Regions from separate parts of the Homo sapiens genome. Here all the other regions are linked to region 2. The links are contacts of gene promoters, found by promoter capture Hi-C in blood cells and fetal thymus (Javierre and others, 2016). All regions are on one chromosome and are shown on one strand. The core of a region is centred on a gene start or on the middle of the fragment in contact, and the rest is flanking DNA. Distances in the headings are between cores, read along the strand shown. Region 1 overlaps PDZD2 (PDZ domain containing 2). Region 2 holds the start of PDZD2 (PDZ domain containing 2). Region 3 holds the start of LOC124901200 (small nucleolar RNA U13).

Evidence for each region. Contacts are between HindIII fragments. The CHiCAGO score rates a contact against its expected background, and 5 or more counts as called.
Region 1: a fragment that was not itself captured here is called in contact with the fragment with the promoter of PDZD2 in region 2 in 1 of 17 cell types (megakaryocytes); the score reaches 5.0 in megakaryocytes.
Region 3: a fragment that was not itself captured here is called in contact with the fragment with the promoter of PDZD2 in region 2 in 6 of 17 cell types (megakaryocytes, M1 macrophages, erythroblasts and 3 more); the score reaches 10.2 in megakaryocytes.

Annotation. Positions count from the first base shown.
Region 1 is chr5:31,844,491-31,849,345 of GRCh38, reverse strand. The region is part of intron 2 of PDZD2 (PDZ domain containing 2); the gene reads right to left. It also overlaps the pseudogene RPL5P14. Among named protein-coding and RNA genes, the nearest start is that of MIR4279, 89 kb to the left of the region's middle. The HindIII fragment of the contact is 3,699 bases long and covers 1,230-4,855 here.
Region 2 is chr5:31,636,184-31,640,436 of GRCh38, reverse strand. PDZD2 (PDZ domain containing 2) reads right to left here and starts at 1,306. Exons shown (of 25, transcript NM_178140.4): 1 at 1,000-1,306. RefSeq lists a silencer at 1,003-1,352. The HindIII fragment of the contact is 6,072 bases long and covers 1-3,254 here.
Region 3 is chr5:31,823,840-31,828,254 of GRCh38, reverse strand. All of the region lies in intron 2 of PDZD2 (PDZ domain containing 2), which reads right to left. It overlaps LOC124901200 (small nucleolar RNA U13), which reads right to left and starts at 3,676; the gene lies at 3,573-3,676. The HindIII fragment of the contact is 1,196 bases long and covers 2,319-3,514 here.

The sequences.
Region 1 (4,855 bases), core at 1,830-4,329, 210 kb before region 2:
TTCTAACACAAGGAAACTGAGTCACAAAGAGGTTAAGTAACACGGCTAATAAATGCTGGAGTCCTAATTCAAACCCATTTGGTCTGACTCAAAAGGGTGTGCGTAATCATTACACCACTGCCTCTTATCATTAGGTATTTTTAGCTATTCAGAGGGAGGAAACACTGCAAAAAGAAGCATTCATGCTTATTGGCCAAACTGACTGAAAAGCAAGCTGTACACAGGTTTACATTGCCTGGGGAAATAATCATCTTTTCCCAGCAAAACAGAGGAAAGGAAGGACCAAGTTCATTTTCTGAGATGGAGTCTCGCTCTGTCGCCCAGGCTGGAGTGCAGTGGCAAGATCTCGGCTCACTGCAAGCTCCACCTCCTGGGTTCACGCCATTCTCCTGCCTCAGCCTCCCTAGTACCTGGGACTACAGGCGCCTGCCACCACGCCTGGCTAATTTTTTGTATTTTTAGTAGAGACGGGGTTTCACCGTGTTAGCCAGGATGTTCTCAATCTCCTGATCTCGTGATCTGCCCACCTAGACCTCCCAAAGTGCTGGGATTACAGGTGTGAGCCACCGTGCCCGGCCCATTTTCTTTTTTCTTTTTTTTTGACAGTCTCACTCTGTCGCCCAGGCTGGAGTGCAATGGCACGATCTTGGCTCACTGCAACCTCTGCCTCCCGGGTTCAAGCAATTCTCCTGCCACAGCCTCCTGAGTAGCTGGGATTACAGGTGCCCACCACCACACCTGGCTGGTTTTTGTATTTTTAGTAGAGACGGGGTTTCACCATGTTGGCCAGGCTGGTCTCAAACTCCTGACCTCAGGTGATCTGCCCACCTCAGCCTCCCAAAGTGCTGGGATTACAGGCGTGAGCCACGGCGCCAGGCCCCAAGTTCACTTTCTGATAGGGAGGGTGCATTGCTATCTCCCACAAAGCTGAAGAATTCAAATCAAGGTTCACCTTTATACATTTAATTATTCAGCTGTAATCTAACTTTGCATATAGTAGGTTTGACTGTGGAATGAATGAATACAAATGCTTCTTGACTGTGATGCCTTAAGACACATGAACTGAAATGAGGTTTTCCAGCATGGTGGTCAAGGCTCTGGTCGGTCATTTCCTGTTTCCTTTTCTTCAGCTGCTTAGTAAATAAGTTGATTGTCTTTATCTGAAAAATCTTCATAGAAAATTGTTTGGTTTAGGTCTTAGTAGCCCGCTCCTGAGCTCTGAGGAAGCTTGCCTACTTTTGAGCTACCTGATCTTTCTTCTGGGCAAGGGACATTTTGGGATAGTTCCACCTCTGCTTTTCAACTTCTTTCTTAGGCTTCTTCTCATAGATTGGATTCTCTTGCATAGCAGCATGAGCCTTCTTATACATCCCCATCATGTCTGGAGTTATGCTGTTCTTTATGTATTGAGAGAATGGTTTCTGGTAAGCATCTTCATCTTCCATTAGGTAACGCATGTAATCTGCAACATTCTGACACGTGATGTGCTTCCAATGCATTAACTTCTGCATTAAGTTCCTTGCTTTCAGAATCATAACCAGGGAATCGTCTGGTACTGCAAGGGATAGACAAGCCTCCATTCACAGCTTCCTTCAGGGCCTCCAAAACTGTATTGTCAGTGGTAGTTCTGGCAAGGCCTGCATCCAAATAGCAGGTAAAGGCACCGGGCTGGCCATCAATGCTTTCCACATTGTATTCATCTCCAGTCACCACCACTTGGCATTCCTAGATCTTGCCCATGCCAAACCTACTGAAAAGCCTCCGAGCCAGCAGCAGGCCAGTACAATATGCTGCAGCAGAATTTGTCAGCCAACCTTCACACCAAATTTTGGCAGTGTGTGCATAAGCTGTGCAGACTATCATATCCCCTTCTACATGGGCATACGCAATCTGACAAATGATATCTCTGTTACGCGAACTCTCATCCTGTATTTGGGTGTGTTGTACTTATTTTTATCCTCTATCACCAAGCGTTTCTTAGCATAGTAATCGGTTTTACCCTCTTGTCGTCTTCTAAATTTCATTTTGTATCTTTTAAAGTAGGCCTTATTCCTGACAACTTTAACAAACCCCACCCTACAGAACAGAGACTCATGTCACAGCTCAGCACAGACCTCTGGCTTGTCATTTCTGTGGGCTTCTTATCAGATGTCCCCAAAGAGCCTTACAATAATCCAATGTTTCCTTCAATTCAGTATCTATGAGACAGCATATGGATGGGTCACATATTTCCCCAATGTCAACTACTTTTAGATCAAGACAAGATTTTTAACGAGGTTTATTGAGTGCTGTTGTATATCAACAATAGATGATTCATGAGTGAAACAGACAGCAAAATGATTTTTAGAAAGGCAAGTGAACCAGACACAAACAAAAAATAAAAAGCCTTGATCCAAATTACTCTAAAGGACAGATATTTTCCCATTAGGACAATTTATCCTAAATCTGTAAACAGAGAGGGGCATAATTATACAAGTGTTTGCTAACAGATCTAAACCTTATGCAGCTGTAAAAAGCTGAAGAAAGGAAGAAAGCGGAAATTCCCAGGAGAAGATCCCCGACCACATCCAGGGCCACCAGCTCTCCACAAACACAAGGCCCAGCAGTGGCACCAAGCAAAGCATGAGAAGAAACCTCAGGATTCTGACACAATCCACAAATATAACTTTGAATTGTCCTGAAACTAAACAATGACAATTCTATCCAATCAACTTTCAGCTGACACACAGACGGGGTGGTGACTTATTGGTGTTCCAGATGTAGTTAATGGAAACATGATGCCCAGAATTAAAAAGGTATTCAGTAAATGTTGATTGAATGGATGGATGAGTGAATGACGTCTGAACAGATGCCCATGTCTCTTTCCCTCTTCGCAGCTCTGTTGGGAAGATGTCCTCAATGCTTCAAACCTGGCCAGGCGTGGTGGCTCACGCCTCTAATCCCAGCACTTTGGGAGGCCGAGGTGGGCAGATCACCTGAAGTCAGGAGTTCAAGACCAGCCTGGCCAACATGGTGAAACCTTGTCTCTACTAAAAATACAAAAAATTAGCTGGGTGCAGTGGTGCACGCCTGTAATCCCAGCTACTCGGGAGGCTGAGGCAGGAGAATCACTTGAACCCGGGATGCGGAGGTTGCAGTGAGGCGAGATTGCGCCACTGCACTCAAGCCTGGGCAACAGAGTGAGACTCCGTCTCAAAGAAAAAAACCAACCAACCAAACAAACAAAATGCTTCAAACCCAAAGCCACCACAGAGGGGCTGAACCATTTGACATAGTTCCCCAGGAACAGAACAGTTCATGGAACCGGAGAATGGTTTCTGATCCAAAGATATACTAATTTGTGATCTTCCAGTGCACACAGGAAGGGGGATTGTGGTGCCTCTGGAACATCTTTGCAGGTCTTGATTCAAAAGCTGCCATTATTTACAATATAGATTCTAAACTCTATTTGAAGTCCAACAGAACCAAGTACTAAGTAGCTAGCATGTATTGAACACATACAGGATGCCAAGACCTGTTGTAAGCCTTTTATGTATTAGGTCATTAAATCCCTATTACAATCTTAGAATATGTACTATTATTACAGCAACCCATTTTACAGGCAATGAAACTGGACAAGATTATCTAAGTAGCTCATGGTCACACAACTAATAAGTAGAGGAGCTGGATCTGAGAGTCTACCTGGAACCAGTGCTTACTCTTAATTGCTACCCAATGCTATCTGTCCGGATCTTACTTCCTGCCACTTCTCTGCACAAACTCACTGTTTGCCCACAAATATGCAAAGAACATTCTAATCTGTGCAGGACACGTTCCCTGACTTCCCTCCCACTGTTAGCTCTCTCTTCTGAGTGCTCACATCACTCATTCTCCAGGGAACACACTGAAACTTACTTGGTTCACATCACACCTCTCCAGATAGCTCTGAAGTTCCTTTGGTGTTGGAACTGTGTGTTATATGGCAGTGTGGAGACGTAGTGGAATAAGAAAGACCTAGGTTTAAAGTTCAAATCCCATAATGATTATCCGTGAGATTCTGGGTAAGTCATTTGACATTTCCTGTCCTTATATTTAAACCGTCTACCTTAAAGGCTTGTTGAGGAGGAGAGGCTGAGTGTCTAGGATGATGCCTGATATTGTAAGCCAGTGATTCTCAATCAGGTATTTTACACACCCTTCCCCTATCCCCGCAGGGACATTTGGCAATGTCTGGAGATGTTTGATAGTCCGATTGCTTACTGGCATCTGACGGAGAGAGAGAAAGAATTCTTCTCATCTCCCATTCTTCTGACGTGGTAACAATATCTTCTTCCATTTCTACCTTTCACAGTCTCGAAAACATGAATAATTTGTGCTCAGTTGTATATGATAAAAGAAACTTGTTTCTTGTTTAAAGAAACTTGTTCCCACTCACAGAGGTCTTCTGCTTTGACCTATCCCTGAGAACTGGGCATTGGGCAACGTAAACTCAGAAGCAGAAAATCAATTACAGCCATTGCTCACCTCTAGGCGGGGCCCACACCCAGCCCTGCCAGATGGTTTTATAATAGTGAGTGCTGTGTTACCATGAAGGGCCTTCTATAAAGGAGAGTTGAAGCTGGATAGTATCCCAGAGACTGTTCCTTTCCCCAGCAAACCTTCATCTAGCAGGGGCTGGTGCCTTTCCTTACACAGGTTTATACTAACACTGCCAGATAAAATATAGGCGACCCAGTTAAATTTGAATCACAGATGAAAAATGAGTAATTATTTTACTCTAAGTAGATCCCAAAAATCACATGGAATTTTTCATTTGCTAAATCTGACAATCTTATTTTATAACAACCAAGTCCTTACCACTTGGTCTTGACAAAAA
Region 2 (4,253 bases), core at 57-2,556:
GGTTAGGCCAGCTGCAGGGGACAGACTCAGACTCAGCTCCATCCCCCAACACTGCCCAACGGCCAGTCCCAGGGCAGGTCTGGAGCTCTGGAATGCCCTCGTGCCTGCCATTCCAGTCTCTGCGACCAGCCCATGCCAGACCTTGTCCTCTTCCCACTCCAGTGTCCCTTATCAAGGTCTCTGCATAGATTTGGGCTGCCGAGGACAGCTTCTGGCAAACTCCTGCCAGGGGTCCTGGACCCTCCTGCTGCTGAATTCAGCCTTGCGCTTTAATGGATTTTCCAAATAGCGGGGACCACAGGCAGCTCAAAGACTTAAAACACAAACGCAAACCCGAGGGAGGGAGAGAGGAACAGAGGGAGGGAGAAACCAGATTTTAGGAGAAACTCGACTTCAGAGAGAGAGCAGGATTTCCCTATCACTATGTTCCCCATCTCCCCGGCAGACGCCAATAACCGGCCCTAAGATGCCCTTGATCTTTGCGCGCCCCCTGCATTCCCTCGCCCCGCGTCTAACGTCTCATCTGGGCAAAGAGGCGGGGGTTGAGAGATGAAACAAGCCCGAGGGAGGATGGTCCCCAAGACATTACCTGAGGCCGGAGTACCTGAGTACCTCCACTCCTGTCGGAGGAAGGGACCAGAAGACGGCCCAGGGATGGGGACCCGGGATGCGCGCCCGAGCAGGAGGTCCCGGCCCTGTCTTGAGTACCCCCGGCAGTGCGTCTCCGGTTGTCCCGCTGTCTCGGTCCCGCTCTGTCTAGCCCCCTCCCCTGGGCTGCGCCCTCCCCGTCCCCGGCCGGATGCTAGAGGAGTTTGCGCCGCCCAACGTGGGACCCCGGTTCGGCGTCCTCACTCCCCGCCCTGCCAGGGCTGGGATTCCCGCACCCGGATTTGTAGCTAAACTTTCCTGGGCACACACGGTCTCGGGGGTGCCGGGCCTCCCCCATCCCCTGCCCACCCGGAGCCGCGCGTCCCGGCTGCAGCGGGACGGTCGCTTCACCTGCTCGCGGCTTGGCCGAGGCTCCCGCGGCTTCCTCGCGCGTCCAGACCCAGGCGCCGCCCGGCGGGTCCCCGCGCAGCTGCCGCCACCGCGGCCACCACCGGTGCCGCCGCCGCGCCTGCCCCGAGCTGCAGAGCCGCGGTTCGCCGGCAGCCGCGGGAGGCGCAATCCCGGTGCCTTGGGTTCGGCCTGCGGCTCCTCGGCTGCCTGCAGCCGCCGCCCCGCCGCGTCCCGCTGCCCGGGGCCGGCACGCACCGGCGCTGGGGTCCGCTCCTCGCCTCGCTGCGCAGGGGATCCGCCGAGCCTCCAGGATGGGCGGGGATTCCCTCCCCCTGGTTGATTCGAGGGGCGGGAACTCCCTTCCCCGAGTGACAGGGACGGGGGGCGGGGATTCCCCTGCAGGAATAACAAGGTGGGCGGGGATTTCCCCGAGCGAGCCCCGCCGCGGGCAAGGCGTCTCTCTGGGTGAGCCAGGAGTCCTGGTGCGCCCGCTTCAGAAACCTGGGGATCGTGGGAGGAAGGCATCCAGGGAGATGGCTGCTCCGAATCTCCATACAGGCGGGGCTTAGGGCGCCATCTAGGTGGAACAGAGCGAGCTAGGGGACGTGAAGTTGCCTCTGCATAGCACTTTACACAGCAAAGAGAAAAATGTCAGTTACCTTATCAAAGAATGGGGCGGAGGGGCCACAGGAGATGGGGGAAGAGCTAACCACTCACCCCAAGCTACCCTTAGCCTCTGGTCCTTGGGATACCAAAGGTAATTTAGCACTGGTACGAGGATTTCGGGGAGAGGGGACCTCTTGGCACCTCAGAGCTGCTTAATCCCCCAGTTAAGCCCCTGGGGGGGAATCCCATGGCCCTGGGGTGGTGGTTTTGGTCCCATGAGCACTAGCCACGAGCTCCTGCCGAGTGGACTGTGAGAGCTAATGCCAGCCGCCCTTGGCTCCCGTCCAGGTCACTCGAGGAACCGAGCCTCAGGCTTTTGGGATCCTTCATTCCGGTGGATTTTCAGGAAGGCCTTCAAATATTTTTGGTTCTTTTTTTGTCATCCTTGTCATTCTGCCTACCAAAGGGAGAGGATGATAAGAACATAATAGGAAGACTGCACAGCTCTGCAAATTAAGCTCTCTTAAGAGGAAAAAGCTGGTCTTTTTCAAGTGCTGGCAGATAAGAGTAAAAACATATGAAAAATTGCAAAACCTGGGATAATGAATAGTTGAATAATGCTTTTGACATTTTCTACAGAACAGTAATTGGAAATCTTTGCTTTCGGGGGGATGGGGATGGGACAGGGCAGGCCCCAGCTGCAGTTCTGCCCAGCAAGGCAATAAACTCTGGCCTCTCCGAAAAGCAGGCAGACATAAATCACCTGCGCAGACCGGACAGCGCTGTCCCACCACACCAGAGACCAGAGTGGGCCCAAGGCATTTGGAGGTGGTATTGTCCTCAGGGGCTGGGGTGGAGAAGTTCTTGATTTCAGCTGTTCTTCAGCTTTTATAATTACCAGGCCATTGAGATCAATGCTTGCACAAATCCAAGCATCGTATATGACAAGCTGGGCACTCAGGCACTCAGAGCTTCTCTTCCTATGTGTAAATAGAGAAAACACCTACCATGCAGGATTGCTGGAACTAGCAGTAACACAGCTATTCAGCACAGCACTTAGGAGGTGCTCAATGAAATGGTAACCATTATCAATGAAAGGTATCATTGGGACACTACAAAAAAATCCTTCTAGAAGGATCAAACAGGGCTGGTGCTTTCTGTTTTTTCCACAATCCCAGGCCCATCTTCCACCACTCTGTCCCGTGTTTTCTCAGCCTCTGTACCCAGCACATACCTTGGGCCTACCTCCCTCAGCACCAATGAAAAGTTTGCTGAATCAATGAATATGCAAATAAATGTATCACTCAAACTGTAGTCACTGCTATTTCTTATCCACTCCATCCCCAACTCTTTCATTCCAGCCATGTACTCCTAATCTGTAAATTCTGTTTCCTCTGCCAGAGTGACATTCTCACTCTCCTGTGTCTGCTGAAATCCCAAGGAGGTAAATGTCATCTCTACTGGAAAGGCTTCTCTGATCATCAGAACAAACATCACGTTTCCTCTGCCTTGTTAATTGCTGCAATGGTAGCACTTTATGCAAATTGCTCATCTAACCCTTGTCAGGTGTATTATGTTGTAGGAATTATGGCGTTTTGTCTCACATATTTCTAGCTTGTGAGTTCTTGGAGGTAAGAGAACTTAAAGCTTATTGTTTGTGTTCCCAAAGCCTAGGGTGGCATGGTGTCCGACCCAATAGCCACTCAATAAATATTTGCTGAATTAAAATGAATTGTTAGGTATATACATGTATGTTATATGTGGCATATATTATGTATAAATACAATATATACAGATGTATTTTATAATCTGTCTCCTTCAGACATGGCCCTGCTGACCTGCTTTAAATACTTCGTTTCAATCACTTTTCAGCTGATATTTTCCAGATATTTTTGGCAAGTTCTTATCTGCTAATAATAGCTCAATTCACAGAGGTCAATCAAATGCATGGAAATTTTGTTTTGCCCTTGCAGTCTTGTCAATTTGGAAAGCTGACAACTGAGGGCATTTATTTTCCAATGTTTGAAGATCAAAATGTAAATCCTTTTTGCCCCCTTGTTAAACATTTAGTCACAGATTAGTATTTCTATCAAAGTTGCCATTTTAATTTAGTGCTCATAATATATGTGATGTGGAGGAGGAGGAGGCTGTATATAGAATATCTAAGACTTCAGAGCAAAGGAAGATTAAAATGATAAACAAAGAAAAAATGTGTGATCCCAAGCTATATCAGTGACAGAATGTAGCGTGGTTTAGGTGAGTCCAAGTAGATTCTCATGGATTGCAGTGCCATGTGGTTTACTTCTGAGCTTTCTCCCTCTATGAAGAAAAATCTACAGACCAGGCAGCTGAAACTAAAACTGGAGGTTTGCTTACCAACTCTTGAAAAGACTGCTTTCCATCTTTCCGCCTCAGCTGCTCTTCCAAGTAAATTTCAAGGGAGGAGAAGTAGCCTTAGTCAACAACTGGCTCAATTCCCTTTCTCCTCCCAGCCTCTGTGGGTTCATTTTATCTCCAAAACAGATTCTAGCTTCCTGTTTACCTAGCGAATTACCCTTTTTTCTTTCTTCCACAAATTCCTGGCCACTAACTCTTCCATTCATGACCTCACGCTAGAACGAGCCATCTCCTGGCCAAGAAAGGGGCTT
Region 3 (4,415 bases), core at 1,667-4,166, 190 kb before region 2:
CAAAAAGTTACACATAGAGTTACTATATCATCATCAATTCCATTCTTACATATATATCCAACAGAACTGAAAACATACTCACACAAAAGCTTGTACACCAATGTTCACAGCATGATTCATAATAGTCAAAAAGTGGAAATGACCCAAATGTCCACAAATGGATGGATGGTTAAACAAATGTGGTTAAACATATGGAATACTATTTGGCAATATAACAAAGTAAAGTTCTGAATCATACTGAAACACAGATGAGCACTGAAGTCATTACACTTTCAGTACAGAAGACCATGTACTGAAATATCTGGAATAGGTAAATCTATAGGAACAGAAAGTAGGTTTCCAGGGGCTTGGAGAAGCGGAGTATGGAGAATCCCTGTAATAGGTATGTGTCTTCTTTTTGGAAGGATAAAAACGTCCTAAAATTAGATATTGGTGATATTCAATGCTGTGAATCTATAAAACCACTCAATTGTACATTTTAAAGGATAAATTTTATAGTAGGTGAACATCTCAGTAAAGCCATTTTAAAATTATTTTTATTTTTTTATTTATTTATTTTTTTTGAGACAGAGTCTTGCTCTATCACCCAGGCTGGAGTGCAGTGGCGTGATCTCAGCTCACTGCAACCTCTGCCTCTCAGTTCAAGCAATTCTCCTGCCTCAGCCTCCTGAGTAGCTGAGATTACAGGCGCATGCCACCATACCCAGCTAATTTTTGTATTTTTAGTAGAGACGGGGTGTTACCATGTTGGCCAGGCTAGTCTCGAACTCCTGATCTCAAGTGATCCACCCACCTCAGCCTCCCAAGGTGTTGGGATTACAGGCATGAGCCACCACACCCAGCCTCAGGAAAGCTATTATATAACAAGAAAGCTTACTTTAAAAATTCCTTCATATCGTTATTAATCACAATTACGCCTACAAGGATAAGTCAGTTTTCCAAGGCACGGATAAAGGCCCCAGAAAACCAGGGACTTTATATGTTTTATAGAAGAGTATTTCCCCAATATGCAGTTCCAGAGCTGAAACAGTAGGTGGTCAGTAAATATCCTTAAATGAATAAATATAGATTAAGAAAGTGTTCAGAACCCAGATTTTCTGATTCCCGGTTCACCCCTCCATAGTGGGGAAGTGGCAAGACAGTGACCTCATGAATAAAGAGCAAGGTTCCCTGGCCAGGATGCCACTTACAGAATTGTTGCTGCCTACAGGAAGGTTACGCTCCTTTCTGGGGAATGGACGTGCTGTCTATAGGGACAGACACACTATTTGGCATATGGGTAGCAATTGACAGAGCATCCCAGCAAAAAAAGACTCAGGTCTTGGAGGCAGGTCACCCCGGCTCGATTCCAGGCTCTGTCTCTTAATAGATGGGTTTATCCAATCTTTCTCAGCCTATATTTCCTCATCTGTGAATGCAGGTAATAATACTCGCCTCTTACCTCATAGGGATGTTGTAAGAAGTAAATGAGAAGCATATACCTAATGCATGTGGCTCATTTGGGTAATATCTGATAAATGTTTTAATTTACATTGATAATATCGAATAAACAGGTTTCATATATCTTTTTTTTTTTTTTGAGACAGAGTCTTGTTCTGTCACCCGGGCTGGAGTGCAGTGGCGTGATCTCGGCTCACTGCAACCTCTGCCTTCCGAGTTCAAGTGATTCTCCTGCCTCAGCCTCCCAAGTAGCTGGGAATACAGGTGCGTGCCACCACAGCTGGCTAATTTTTTTTGTATTTTTAGTAGAGACAGGGTTTCACCATGTTGGTCAGGCTGGTCTTGAACTCCTGACCTCAAATGATCCACCCGCCTCGGCTTCCCAAAGTGCTGAGATTACAGACATGAACCACCGTGGCTGGCCTCAAATATCTTGTAAAAAATAAAAGGGAGACAGGTCAGTGGTTGTTTTCAGACTTTGCAGGGAACTGTTACCTGAAAAGGTTTGGAGCCTCACTCCTACCCTCCCCACCACGGTGGCATTGAGCAAGGTAGAGAACAAAAACTTCTTCCCTGTGGAGCAGCTCCCACTCCCTAGCAGCCCACAGCCGGGCATGAAACCAACACGATTATCTTGGGGGCATGGATAAAAGGCAGGAGACAGGAAACATTTTGCCTCACCTTGAGAGAGAAGAGGGACCCAGATATTTATACCCCCGTACCAAATATCTTTTCCCCTCTGTGTTGCAATGGTGCTACATTTGTTGTTTTTCTAATTAAAAAGGAGTACATTGAGGGGCAACTGAACTTGAACTGGTTCGCATCAGGAGCTGTAAACTCAGTCTTCCTGTTCATTAAAAGAGGAAAAAAAAAAAGCTTTCCTTTTGCTTGACACCTGTTAATAGCATGCCTGTGGAAACAAGTAACCATGCTCGAAAACAATCTCCAATTGCTGGATGGAAACAGCCGTTGTGATTGTTTAAGATACAATATACGTAAAGCAAGCAGCACCGTGGTTAGCATGTTGTTGGTACTCAGGAAATGGTAACTATTATTTCAAACACCTTTTCCTTAAATGCTCTGCTGGTGTAGTGCTCACTACCGTGGAATAAACTTAACTGAATAGTGCCCTCCAGAGGCCACTGGGAATTCAACTGTGCTGACAGTTGAAAAAAGGTCTGGAAAAAGACTACAAATACCATTTAATTGTCTTGTACATTGATGTGGAGTCAGCACCAGAGCCCGGTGTCCCAGGATGTATTAGAACATGACCGACTGTCTGATTTGTCACCCACAGCAGCCTTTCTTTGGCTAGGGCTTATTTGTTTGCAAAGGACACTTATGAGGACATGGAGATCTTGGGGAAACAAGTCCAGCTAGGCACTGTGGGAACTGGTGCTGGAAACTGCCAGCCCCTGGAAGGTACTGTCCCATCCCTTTTTCTGGGGACACTGTCTTTCATCCCTGTCCTTTTCTGCATGTCCACTCTGTGTTCCTCTAAAGAAACCAGCTTCCTCTTGACGTCTGCCATTCTGTAACTGTAGTACGGGCATGTGGCTCTGACTCTTTCTGGACATGAATCCAGATGTGGTTCCGTTTGGTGTTCCAGCTCATCCCACACAGCAAAGCAGCGTGGTCTCTCACTGGCTTGATTCCAGATTTTCAGGAGATTAAACTGGTTGTCAGTCAAGTCTAATGGCTGGGTTTAGTCTATCTATCCCTGGTGGGTGGCCAGGAGGTGGAGGTGGGGATGCGTGGGCGTGTGTAGGGAGACAGGGCCAGTGTCATGTGATACTAAACAAATTTAGCACATATGGAACTGCAGGAAGGGCGAGCATGTCAAAGGGTCTGTTTTTCTACAAACACGGAGCTAGTATTAATAGAGCTTTACCATGTGCCATGCACTGTCCTAAGAACTTTCTAAGCATCATTTCATTTAATCCTAAAAACCTCCTATGATATTTGATCCTGCAATCGTTCCCTCTGAAGTAACTGCTGATAACAATGTTTGTGTATCTTTCCATAATTTTCCTAACGCATTTTATTCCCATTTTAAAATGAGGGAACTAAAGCTTAGAAAGTTTAAGCCAAGATTTAAGCCAAGACAGTCTGATTCTTTTTTTTTTTTTTCAGGTTAGACAGGTAATGCACTGACATTGCAACAAGGTTTGAGGGTGGCACATCTCACACACGGCCGTGAACACCCAGTCATCATACTCACGAACTACAAAAGGATCAAGGCAGGCTGATTCTAAAGCCAGGATGTTAAACACTCACCCCACCTTCCTCCCAGTGTAGCCCCTATGGCATGGTAGATAATTTGGCTATGCAGAAAAAACATCAAATTTGGTCTGGTTCTCAGGGAGGTTATAATCTGGTTAAGGAAGGCAAGATTTATACATGCAAAACAATGAGTAAATGACAGGAGAGGGATCAAGTACTAAATTGCATGTTGCCATTATATTTGTTTTCTATTGCTACGTAACAAATTACCACAAATGTAGAAGCTTTGGAGCAATACCCATTTATTAGCTCACGGTTCTGTAGGTAAGAATACAGCTATGGCATGGCTGGGCTTGTGTTGACTGGAGCTGCCAACAATCTCATCTGGGGCTCAGGGACCTTTTTGAAGGAGTTAAAATATGCTATCCTGGAATACTGATTATTTAAGTTAAAGGCACTTGAAAAACAGCAGGTGCAAAAAGATCACTTTGACCTTCATGCTGTTTCTTAAAATCAGAAGATTAAATTCCCATGTGAAAGACGCCCTCCCTATACTAGTAAGATGCAACATCCTTGCCATCAAGGACGAGAAAGTTGAGGTCAAGGAAATTCTGTACAAACAAGCCTTTCTCTTCCTAGCTATTTTCCTACCCTATTTACTATCCTAGTGCAAGCCCCTTCGCCTTACACATGTTCACAGTTTACTATTGCGTCCAATCCAGAATGGAAGAAACTGACAATAACTGCTTCTT